Regions from separate parts of the Homo sapiens genome. Here regions 2 and 3 are each linked to region 1. Evidence: promoter capture Hi-C in 16 types of primary human blood cells and fetal thymus (Javierre and others, 2016). All regions are on one chromosome and are shown on one strand. Each heading gives the region's core, a stretch centred on a gene start or on the middle of the fragment in contact. The rest is flanking DNA. Distances are from core to core; before and after follow the strand shown. Region 1 holds the start of PTGS1 (prostaglandin-endoperoxide synthase 1). Region 2 overlaps NDUFA8 (NADH:ubiquinone oxidoreductase subunit A8). Region 3 has its middle 6.7 kb from the start of MIR4478.

The links. Contacts are between HindIII fragments. The CHiCAGO score rates a contact against its expected background, and 5 or more counts as called.
Region 2: a contact is called between a fragment that was not itself captured here and the fragment with the promoter of PTGS1 in region 1, in 4 of 17 cell types (megakaryocytes, erythroblasts, endothelial precursors and 1 more). The highest score is 7.7, in megakaryocytes.
Region 3: a contact is called between a fragment that was not itself captured here and the fragment with the promoter of PTGS1 in region 1, in 15 of 17 cell types (megakaryocytes, erythroblasts, endothelial precursors and 12 more). The highest score is 10.5, in megakaryocytes.

What each region holds. Positions count from the first base shown.
Region 1 is chr9:122,369,564-122,373,545 of GRCh38, reverse strand. PTGS1 (prostaglandin-endoperoxide synthase 1) reads right to left here and starts at 2,522. Exons shown (of 11, transcript NM_000962.4): 1 at 2,455-2,522; 2 at 2,274-2,360. The coding sequence starts at 2,461. The HindIII fragment of the contact is 9,806 bases long and covers 1-3,982 here.
Region 2 is chr9:122,143,809-122,147,379 of GRCh38, reverse strand. NDUFA8 (NADH:ubiquinone oxidoreductase subunit A8) reads left to right here. Exons shown (of 4, transcript NM_014222.3): 4 at 3,002-3,322. The coding sequence ends at 3,139. Among named protein-coding and RNA genes, the nearest start is that of NDUFA8, 14 kb to the left of the region's middle. The HindIII fragment of the contact is 1,481 bases long and covers 811-2,291 here.
Region 3 is chr9:122,125,015-122,128,702 of GRCh38, reverse strand. No RefSeq gene overlaps it. Among named protein-coding and RNA genes, the nearest start is that of MIR4478, 6.7 kb to the right of the region's middle. RefSeq lists enhancers at 495-1,260, 1,261-2,027, 2,028-2,793, 2,794-3,560. The HindIII fragment of the contact is 5,201 bases long and covers 1-3,688 here.

The DNA.
Region 1 (3,982 bases), core at 1,273-3,772:
GAGGGGAAGTACTTGAGCATTCAGGGCGCCCCCGGCACAGCCTTGCCTCCAGGCTGGCCTCCATCTCCTCACCCACCAGAGAGGCAAAAGCAGCATTCTCTCCCTCCGCCTGCCCTCTTAGGTGAGTGCAGCCCTCATCTCTTCATCTCCTTTGCCTCTAGAGGTAAAAGACAGGCTTTGGCTTCCTGGGGCAGATGCCCAAGTAGCTTGGCCCTCAGTTTACTCGCAGACTTGGAAATATGAGGGCAACCCAGACCTTCTGCCCCTGCACTCCACCAGTCATTCGTTCTTTCCTAGATCCTTGCAGGAGCCTCGGTACCAGTTTTCTGGCCTCCAGTCTCATCCCCACATTACGCATCCAACCTCAGCCTCCTGCTCCACATTACCCTTACGGTGTTTCCTGGTCGAGTCTCTTAGTGTTTCCCCCACCCGCCACCTCCTTCGAGGTCCAGTCCAAAAGTCATCAGATCCAAGAAGCCTCCCTCAATTCTTCGCACTGAGAGGCAGCTGCTCCCTCCCCTGAGCTCCGCACACCCCTGCTCCCTTCCCTGGGCTCCCTATACCCCTGCTTCCTCCCATGAGCTCCGCACAGCCCTGGTCCCCTTGGATGACAGTCTGTTGGCATTTCTGGCTCCACCATCAGCCTGTCAGCTCCTCCCAGCTCCGTGTCTCCAGGCCCCAGCCAAAGACTGGCATAAATAACCCTTGGGGATAAAAAAAAACAATTCCGTGTAAACATTTATTATACAAAAGGAAACAGAAAAGGCAAAAAACAAAATAGCACAGACCATGGCTCATTGTGCATTAGTGAATGGACTAAAAAAGAATACAGACGGGTGGGACCTGTATACCAAGAGTGCCTGGATGAGGCCAGATGGGGCCTCAGAGGAAGTGCTGGGCTGATCCAGGGACTGACAAGATGGGTCAGCGAGGCAACCTGAAGAGCCCCTTCTACTCCCCACCACCAGCTCACTGTGAGGATTCAGACAAGTGGCTTCACTCCCTCTGGGCCTCAGAGTCCCCTTCTGTAGACTGGGTCTAACGCATCTCTCTGGCAGGGCTGTTGAGAGCACCAAAGAGGTGGATGTCCACAACCAACCTTTGTAAACTTTAAAGTGCTGGCCACATGAGTCTTCCTCCTCCTCTTCCCATAAACCAGACTTTTATTCAACGCAATCCCTTTCCTAGAGCACCCTCCGTCCTCTCTTTGGGTCCCCTAAATGCCACCCACCCAAAGCCCGTTTCAGGAAACTTGGTCTGATCCAAAATCCATGTACATATCTTTCCTCTTTCCCCCACGCACCAGATCCTTAGAGCATCACAGCAGAAAGTGCGGACTCCCTCTGCTCCCTCCTGCCCTCTCTGGGCCTCATTTTAGAGATTTTACACAGCTAGGTGGTGGAGGAAACTATATCCAACTGGGACACATGCTCACACACACGCACACACACAAGCAGCGAGCTGGGGGAGGAAGGTTGGCTGAGCGAGGAGCTGAATTCCTTCACCTGGAACCTGGCACATGCATGGGGGAGGGAAGGGCGGAATTTCCCCATCAACCTCCCCCATGAAACCCAGAGTGGCTCCGGGTCCATTGTGGGTAGAAGCAGCTTTCTGTGGAAAGACCTTGCGAAGTGTGTGGACGCAGACAGACCTGAGTTCAGATCCTGGGCCCACCATGTATTTTGTGAGCTTGGGGAATCATGGCACCTACTGAGCCTCGGTTTCCTCATTTGCTCAATGGGGATCTCTTAAACCCCAGATGAAGCATCCCGGCTCCTAAATGTATTTCCATCTCCCATGTTCTCCCGAAGTCTTCACCAGGGGAGACCTTCTCCACTGGCAATGGGAATCAGGATGGGTTCCCAGACGGTTAGAGGCTGGAGAAAGGGAACTCATTTCCCTTGGTGCCTGCGGCTTCCTCCCAAAGAGGCCCCTATAGGAAACAGCGGGGTTGTTGGGTGCAGAGGCTGCTTAGACATCTGGGGCCCAGAACAGGTGAGGGGGATGGATAGGGACTGTCCCTTCTCCCCAAGTTGGCACCAGATCCCAGTCTGCTGTTTCCCCTGAAAGAACTAGATAGCCCATTAGCCAAGGCCACACCGCCGGGGGGGCTTCAGGGAGCCCCCATCCCACCAAAAGACTCAGCCTCAGTCTTTCTCAGCACCGCGAGCAGAAAGGGGAAGCTGGGCCCGCTGGAGGGGAAAGGAGGGGGTTGAAACCAGGCCAGGGGCGCAAGACCGGGGATTCCCTTGGGGAGGGATGGGGCCGCCTACCTGGCGTGGGCGCCCCTGGGTCCGCGAGCAGGACGGGGAGCGGCGGGAGCAGGAGCAGGAACAGCAAGAACCAGAGCAAGAGACTCCCTGCAGAGGAGAGAGATGAGGGGCTGAGCCTGGCATTCAAGGCTCCACCAGGAGGCCAAGAAAATTCCCCACCGGGCACCGGGGTCGCACTCACGGCTCATGGCGCGGCTGCTGGGGTGCGGGACGCAGAGTGCAGGCTCCTGTGCGTGCGCCTCGCACACTGCCCGGAGCTCCAGCCCATCCCCTCCCCACCCTTCCCCCGGCTCCACCCCCGCTCCTCCCTCCAGCTGTCACCTCGGCTGCCCGCTTACTTCCTCTGCCCAGCCCCGGCCAAGGCATTTTATTAATTAGTGTATGCTCGCCGCTAAAGCGGCTTTTCACCCAAGATCCTTGAAGCACTTACGTTTCTGATGCCTGGTGGCACTAGATATAGACAGGAAACTGAGGCTCAGAGACGATGCTCAATGCTGAGGTCACCCAGGGCTTAGGGACAGAACTGGGGATGGAAGCGGCTCGTCTGAACCACATACCCTGCCCCGCAGAGAAGAAAGGGTCTCAGAGTCCCCTTCTGTAAAATGGGTCTAACGCACTCTACAGAAAAGGGTAGAGAAGAAAAGGGGCTAGAAACAGGGCAGTCTGCAGAGAAGAAAGGGGGCTAGAAATGGGGCAGTCCAGCCTGGCCTGCTGATGGTTTCCTAGATGAGAAACTCACTACTCCTCAGACAGATCTAACAGGAAGGACTTACTTCCCCCATGGGCTGGGCTCCGCCCCCTGAAGCCACAGGTCTCTGCCAGAAATGAAAAGACCGGGCTCCAAACTCCAAGAGAGCCTAGTTCAAATCCAGACTCCACAGCTTACTGGCCGTGTCACCTTGGACAAGGTACTTATCTTTTCTAGCCCTCAGTATTCTCATCTATAAAATCGGCTTAATAGCAAAAACCATCCCAGAGGGTGGTTGTAAGATTCAATGAGGGAATGCACACAAATCTCCTGGTGCAGTGTCCAGCATGTAGTAGGTGCTCAGTTATCGGAAGGCATTTTTTCAAAGATCTCTGAACTCAGATTCCAGGGCTGGCCAGGGTCCATGCTGTAGCTAGACTCACATCCACCGCCGAATTTATAGAATCCCAGCATCCAGCTCTCCTTTTCGCCAGCTCAGGAAGCACCTAGAAGGAGGAAGGAATAGGTCCAAGATCACCCAAAGTCCCATGGTGCTGGCACCCACAAGTCATCTCCCTCAGTTTCCCCAGCACACCCAGCCATCCTGTGGGCCCCACAGTGGGGAAAGCCGGCAGGAGAGCTCAGAGGTTCTTGTGCTGGCTCCTGGGCATCACTGGGTGCAGGGTAGAAATTATGCCAGGTGGGAGAGGTGAAACCTGCTGGGAAGCCCCTCCCCCATTCTCACCCAAGCTGTTCCCATGCTCCCCTGGGACAAAAGCCAGCTGCCCTAGGGAGACAGAGCAAGCCAGGGCAGACCTGGAGAAGGAGTGGGGCATTGGAGGGCCCTGGGGCTCTCAGGGTGCCGGGACCGGCTTCAGCCTTCCCTTCCTCCCCAAATCAAGGGCCCCCTAGCATTTACAGGGCAAGGAGATGGGATTATCAGCAAAAGGGATGGGGACAGGGTGGAGGTGTGGGGGTCCAGTTGTCCAAAGAAAGGGGGAGTTTCTGGTGAGAAGAAAGG
Region 2 (3,571 bases), core at 302-2,801, 230 kb after region 1:
TCCTATATTTCCTATCTTAGTTTTGACACCACCATCTGTTGAAACATCAGAGCTAGAAACCTGAATTCTTCATTCCCTACTGATTCCATGCAGTCATCACTTCCTTTAGATTAGCATCTTCTGGAATTTTTTTTTTAATCCTCTCATTGTTCCTGCTGCTGTTATCTTATTCTTGGACAGGAGTTCTTAACCTGGGGTACATGAATTTCTGGGAGAGGAGGGTGGATCAATGTGGGCTTTAGATGAAATTGAAGAATTGAGGATTAAATTACACCTCCACAAGAAGAGTGATCTGTGTGGAAAACAAATCTTATGTCACTGTGTTTTTAAAAACTGTACGGGGACTCTCCATTGCTGGTGAGATAAAGCATCTTCTCCATAACATGGCATGCAGGCCCTTTATGATCTGACCCATCCCTGCTTCTTCAGCCTCAGCTCCCTCTGTTCCCTGTGGAGCAGCACAGGTAGCAAGGCATGGAGGAAAAAACTCAGGTCTTACTCTCTCTCCTAGGCTGGAATGCAGTGGTGCGATCACAGCTCACTGCAGCCTTGACTTCCTGGGCACAGGTGATTCTCCCACCTCAGCCTCCCAAGTAGCTGGGACTACAGGCACAGGCCACCATGCCCAACTAATTTTTGTATTTTAGTAGAGACAGGATTTTGCTATATTACCCAGTCTGGTCTTGAGATCCTGAGCTCAAGCAGTCCTCCCACCTTAGCCTCCCAGTGTGATGGGATTACAGGTCACCATACCCGGTCTAGTTCCCTTCTCTTTGTGTATAGCATCTGTGAATGGTTGGATTATAAGCTTGGTGTCATGAGTAATAACTTAGCAATTTTTTTGTCTTTTATATCTGGCTTGATTATTTTCAGATACTTTTTGATGTACTGAACATATTATTTTAAATAGTTGATAATTCTAGATTGGAAAGTGGTAGAACTTATACATGTAACAAATAAAACTACCTTTTCTCATTTCTGACTTATGAAAGAAGAAATAACAAGTCATGCTAGTAAGAAAGCATATTTATTCTTGAATCTTTGTATTAACATTTTTTAAAACTCTGTGAGATAAAAAAAAAATTCTCTTAACTCTTTTCAAAAGTGTATTTCTCGATCAGGTGCCATGGCTCACACCTGCAATTCTAGCACTTTGGGAGGCTGAGGCAGGAGGATCGCTTGAGCTCACGAGTTCAGGACTAGCCTGGGCAACATTTTTTTTGTTTTTCTTTTTGAAGTGGAGTCTCACTCTGTCACCCAGGCTGGAGTACAGTGCCACGATCTCTGCTCACTGCAACCAGTGCCTTCCGGGTTCAAGCAATTCTGCCTCAGCCTCTTGAGTAGCTGGGATTACAGGCACCCGCCACCATGGCCAGCTAAATTTTGTATTTTTAGTAGAGAAGGGGTTTCACCATGTTGCCTGGGCTGGTCTTGAACTCTGACCTCAAGTGATCCACCTGCCTCAGCCTCCCAGAGTGCGGGGATTACAGGCATGAGCCACTGTGCCCAGCCAATTTCATAAATGTCTTTAATTCCTTAAAGGAGCTGCAAATACCAAGGAACCACTAGTGGATCATTAGGAACCATCTGTACTTATGACAGGGCGGTGGGATAACTTTCAAAAGCAAACAAACGAAACTAGTAGACTTGAAGACTTAGGTTCCAGCTTTAGCTCTGACATTAGTGTGTATCTTATCTTAGGCATGCCAACCTCCCTGGTCTTCATCTGTGCACTAGAGATAATAATGCCTCATAAGGTGGTTATAATAATAATTGGGTGATTGTATACACAAAAGCTCTGTTCCCAATAAAAGGTTTCTGAATTTATACATCTAGGAAGATGAATCTGGTCATTTTACATGAGGTGACTTAAGAGTTCAGCCCAGTAGAAGAATAATCAGAAGACTGCTGACAGCTGTGGCCTTATGTCTTCTTACTTCTCTGGGCCTATTTCTTTATCTTTAAAATGACAGCAGTTTCTGCTGGCTTTCCAGTTGAGATTTTTGTGACCATCAGGGGATACTGTGAGTGTAAATTATCTCTCTCCCTGTTGCAGTTTAGTACTTCACCACTCTCCTGGCTTATTGGCTCAGCTCCCCAATTTGGGTCTTGCCTCTCTCCACTTTAGCTTTCACACTTCCCAGCCTACAGAGATGGGATTTAGTTACTGCCGTGCTTCAGTGGCACCTGTTAACCGTCAGGTTAAAACGCAAACACCTTTGCATATCATTTAATACCCTTTATCATCTGGCCTGTCCACCACTGTAGTGTGGTATTAAGAAGCACAAGCTTTGGAGTAGGCATATCTGGCTTTGTGTACAATTTCTTCCACTATTAGCTAGGTGGCCTCAGTGAGCCCCTGCAGAATGACCTCCTAAGAGTGAAAATGGAATGGAATCATGTGCTCAGCATCATTTCTAGCAATAAGTTCTTGGTGAGATGCTTCATCTCCCTCCATTCTTCATGCAGCCTTTGATTCAGCCATTCTGAAGACATGCCTGCCTATCTTCATATGTAGTCTTTCCTTGGAATGTCTTTTCCTCCCTTGCCTTTCTGACTGGCTCCTGCTCAGACTTTAAGCTAAGTCTTACCTCCTTAAAAATATTCCAGACCCCCAGCCTTCAGGATGGGTTAGATGTGCACAGTCCTTGCTCCTATAGAGGCAGTTCCTGTCTCCATCATTGCCATTAGCCATCAGGGTGATTTGGAAATCTTGGTTGTTATTCCTGGCTTTCTCCCTCACTAGACTGTGATCCCCTTGAGGACAGTATCTTGTTCCCTTCTGTATCCCTAGTTTCTACCACATGGAATGACATAAAGTAGGCTTTCCTGAGTGTTTGTTCAATGATTAAATACGTCTGAATGTGATTTGCTGGGAATTTAAGTCGGGGAGCAGTTGTAGCAGCGGGAGCAATGAGGAGACACCAGGAGGCGCATTGATGGTTACAGATTCCTCCACCCTAGCTTTCAACTTTGCTTTTGCCCTCTTCACCCTTCCCAGGTCACCAAAGTGAAAACAGATCGACCTTTACCGGAGAATCCCTATCACTCAAGACCAAGACCGGATCCCAGCCCTGAGATCGAGGGAGATCTGCAGCCTGCCACACATGGCAGCCGCTTTTATTTCTGGACCAAGTAAAGATGGGTCCGTGGCCCACACTCGGTCATGTGCTCAGACAACGACTGATGAAAACGCCCATGCGGTTTGCATCGACTGATAGTGTGTTCTTTCCGGGATCACAAACATTAACAAAAAAGTTAACTTATGTGACTTGGCAGTTATTCTATACCATTTCCTGTCCATTAAAATTTTTAAAGGAAACGGTTGTATTTTATTATGTTTTATGTGACCTTTTGGCCTTTAAAGATGACTTCCCCTTGCTTTTTTCTTCTTGTGGTCCTGCCTGTTCCTCTTGCTTTGCTTTAGGCACTCGCTCATGTGGCTGGGGATCCCTGTTAGAACAGGCAGAAGTGGCCATGTGAAGGAAAGGCTTTGTTACTTTAGGCAGCTCCTTGGGGTGTGTCTGTGTTCACACATTTTGAAGTCTCAGCTCTCTTTCCTTCCATCCAA
Region 3 (3,688 bases), core at 170-2,669, 240 kb after region 1:
CCAGGCGCGGCCGGATTCACAGGTTGAAGACTGTTCCTCTGGGCTTCCGGACTCCGTGCCTTCCCCCACAGCCCCTTCCCGGGCCGCCTCCCTTCCTGGCCCGGTGCTGGGGGTGACTAGCGGGTGGGGTGGCATCCGGGCTGGGGCTAGAACTGTGAAGAGGGTGTCTGGGTAGAGACTGATGGCCTGTCAGTTGGCTGCCAGCACATCCTCAAATTCTTTGTCTCTGTGTGGAGTGGGGACTGTGGAGGGGGCAGGGGTTGGGCACAGCAGAGGAGGAGGATGCCGGGGTGGGGGCAGGAGAGGGGCATGGCGGGTTGCGGGAGGCCTCCGTGGTCTGCTGGTGCTTACGCTTGTCGGCGGTGTGTGTCTTCGGGAAGTCAGGTCCTTGCCCCCTGCTTTGGGGCCAGAGACAGGAGTTCAGATCCTAGCTCTGCTCCCCACTTGCTGGGGGTGGGGGGGTCCCAGGCCTGTATCGTTCCTGTTTCCAGTCCTAGGCCTCTGTTTCTTCATCCATGCAATGGGTCTATCCAGCTCTGACCTGCTGTGATCTCTGTAAATCTGAGCTGATTAGAACATTTGGCCCTGAAATTCCAGAGGCCTTTAGGCTTCCCTGATGGAGGGAGCATGGGGCTGAGTCTTGGTGCTGTCAGGGAGGCACTGAGGGGGCTGGGGGTGGGGTCAGAGAGGTGGGGAAGGTGAACCCTCCCCACTGCAAGGCCTGGCAGTAGGGCAAAACCAGGCTGCTTATCTCCCCAGCCTGGGCACCCTGGATGACTGTGCTGGGGACATGGGGCTGATGGAGGGGTCGCCAGGGAGGAGGCGGAGAAGACAGAGATGTCATCTGTCCTGAAAGACACAGCCCTTCAGGGCTTCCTGCCCTCTCTGCAGTTCTTGCCAGGTCACCTGGGCCCCAAAGACCCCACAGTTCTGTTCACCAGCCCCCTTCAGTCCTTGTCACCTGGCTACTGCTAGGCAGCCACACTCAGCTCCATGATCTCACCAGCAGCCAAGTAGCTGAACACACAGTCACAGCGCCCCCGCCCCCACACACACACATAGGCACAAAGCCTGTGGCACAGTCACACATGGGCTTGTAGAGTTATAGGTGCCCCCGCGTGCACAGCCCTCCTGGGAGCCAGCACGGGAGATCACGCATGCGTGCCCACCCCAGCGTGTGGGTGAGCCCAGGGCTGTGCCCAGCCCAGCTCTTAGAGAACCACTCTGAGGCCTCCCTAGACAGAGTCGCAGGAGCCGTCCTAGAGGGGTGGGGGTGGTGATGGGATGAGAAGCTCTCTGTGGGCCTCTGATCCCCTCCTTTAATAAAAGGAGCTAGAAGGCCCCCTCCTCAGCACCCCACCCCCCAGCCTCAGCACCCAAAGCATCCATTATTCCACCCGATGCCCCCTCTAGTTCTGCGGGGTGAGTGCGCTGAGCACATCTTACAGAGGGCAAACTGAGGCTGGGGAGGAGAAGGGGGGTTGCCCAAGGGCAGAGCTGGTGAGGTCAGAAGCAGAATTGCAAGCCGGGGCGGTGGGCCCCCAAACCTGTGTTCTCTCAGGCCGCCCACCCCCATCTGCCGGGCTGGGGTGTGGACCCCGAAGCGTGCCCCGGGCCCCCTCCACCCCAGCACCCAAGGGCCTCCCGGACACAAAGCCACCTGGCGGCGCTCGAGGGGGCGCGCGTGGGAGCGCGCACGGTGGCCCGCGCCTCCGGCCAAGATGTTCCCTCTCCGCGTGATTGACAGGCTCGAGTGCCGAGAAACAAAATTGTTTATGCGCTAATGAATAAGGCCCTGATTGCAAGATCCTGTTTGGAAAATTATAGTGCGGCGGCGGCGGCGGCGGCCGCGGCGGCCCAATTACAGCCCGCGCTGCATATTCATTTCGTCTCTCCTTTGCATCGAGATGAACGGGCGCCCCGCGCCCTGCAAAGGCAACGCCAAATTTAGTCCCAGGTTCCGCACTCCTCCGCGCCATTGTCTGCCCCGGACCACCTGCCTCCTGCCGGCCTGATTGCCCGGGAGGGCGCGAGCAGGGAGGCCAAGAAAGTTCTCCCTACCCCTCCTCCTGGCAACCCCTTCCCTCGGTTCTCTCCGCTCCCTCCTCCGACTCCCCGTCTCTGTCTCCCTTCCCCTCCCGGTGTCTCTTTCTCCCTCTGTTCTCTCTCTACTTATTCTGTGCCCCGCACTTCCTCTCCTCGCTCTAGGCCTCTATCTGGGTGCATCACCGGTCTAGAATGTCAGTCGCTGTCCCTCCCCCTCCAGCTTCACATTCCCTGCGTTCCTGGGTCCCTGGGTACAGCAGGGGCAGTAACGGGGACCGTCTGCTCCTTGGAGGTCACAGAGGTATGAGGCGGGTCTCAAGACCCCTGCCTTGGCTGTGAGCATGGGGTGGCTTGGCTCGTCCCCGCAACCAAGCTGCTGGGGAGAGAGGCCCCTCCCTGCCCGCTGCCTCTGCCGCCTCCCGCATGCCACCAGATCCACTTATCCTGCGGCTCAGGCCCCTTGGCTGCCCAGGCTGCGCCCTCACACCTCCCTGCCCTGCACATGCTGTTCTCTTGCTGGCACGCCCGTCCTGTCTTCCCAGACGCATCCCAAGTACAGCTCAGAGCAGCCTTCCCCTGTCCCCACCACCGCAGGCAACAGGACAGCTCCCTCCCAGAGCACGCTGGTGTCCAGGCATGTCCTGCAGGTACAGCAGCAGGCAGGGTACACTGGCGTCCTTCTCCCGGGCCTGACCAGCCTGGGGGCTGCCGGTGAGTCACCAGGAAGCTCTGGTGTCCAGCTCAAGGCTGATCAAACGGACACCTCCACTGTGATATGGGGGTATAGTCTCCCTGTCCTTGTTGTATGGTGATGGTGGGCAGGAGGGGAGAGGAGGCTGGGAGGGAGGGACTGGGGCTTTGCAGCACCTGGACGCCACAGACCAGGACTGGCCCTGGTTCCAGACAGTGACAAGGACAACTAACTGGTCCTTGTCACTGGGTCATTGACTTAACTGACAAGTACCTGAGGCCCAGTCTGGCTGGAGGCTCATGGTGGGGGTGATGGTGGCGAGGGCTCTTCAGAGGATGGCCGTGCTCCTCCCCGTCCTGCCTGGGGCCCCACTGAGTAACCAGGCATCTGCACCCCTTCCTGGGATGGAAATTGGGGTATTCAGACGTGAGCAAAAATGGACAACCACATATACCAACTGGCCTAGACAACCCCCAACCCTGCCGCCAGAGACACACAAAGTAATAGACTCCCACAGTCACATACACACAAACATAGACACGCAGCCTCTCCTTGAAAGACCCACGCAGCCTGAGACACAAAGGCAGGCTGGCCCCTGGGCGTGTGTGGGGCAGCACTGCCCTCTGGCGGCTGTCTTGGCAATCTCTCTGTCAGGCTCTGGCTAGCTTCCTAGAACCACAGCTGAGCCACGATGCGGGTGCCCAGGCCCAGACCCAGAGAACTGGGACTCCCAGGGATGGGATTTCAGGGAGGAAAAGGAATTTGTGTTCCTAGGGTCGAGGGTCTTTTGAGTTCCAGTTCCCTACCCCAATCTGCATGTAATGCAGAACATGTGAGCAGAACTTGCTCACAGAAGGACCAGTCCAGGGATGGTGAGGGGGCGGAGCTCCTTATCATGGGAGGAGTACGAGTTGGGCTGGGACCACTTGCAGATTGGTGGTCTTTAGTGGC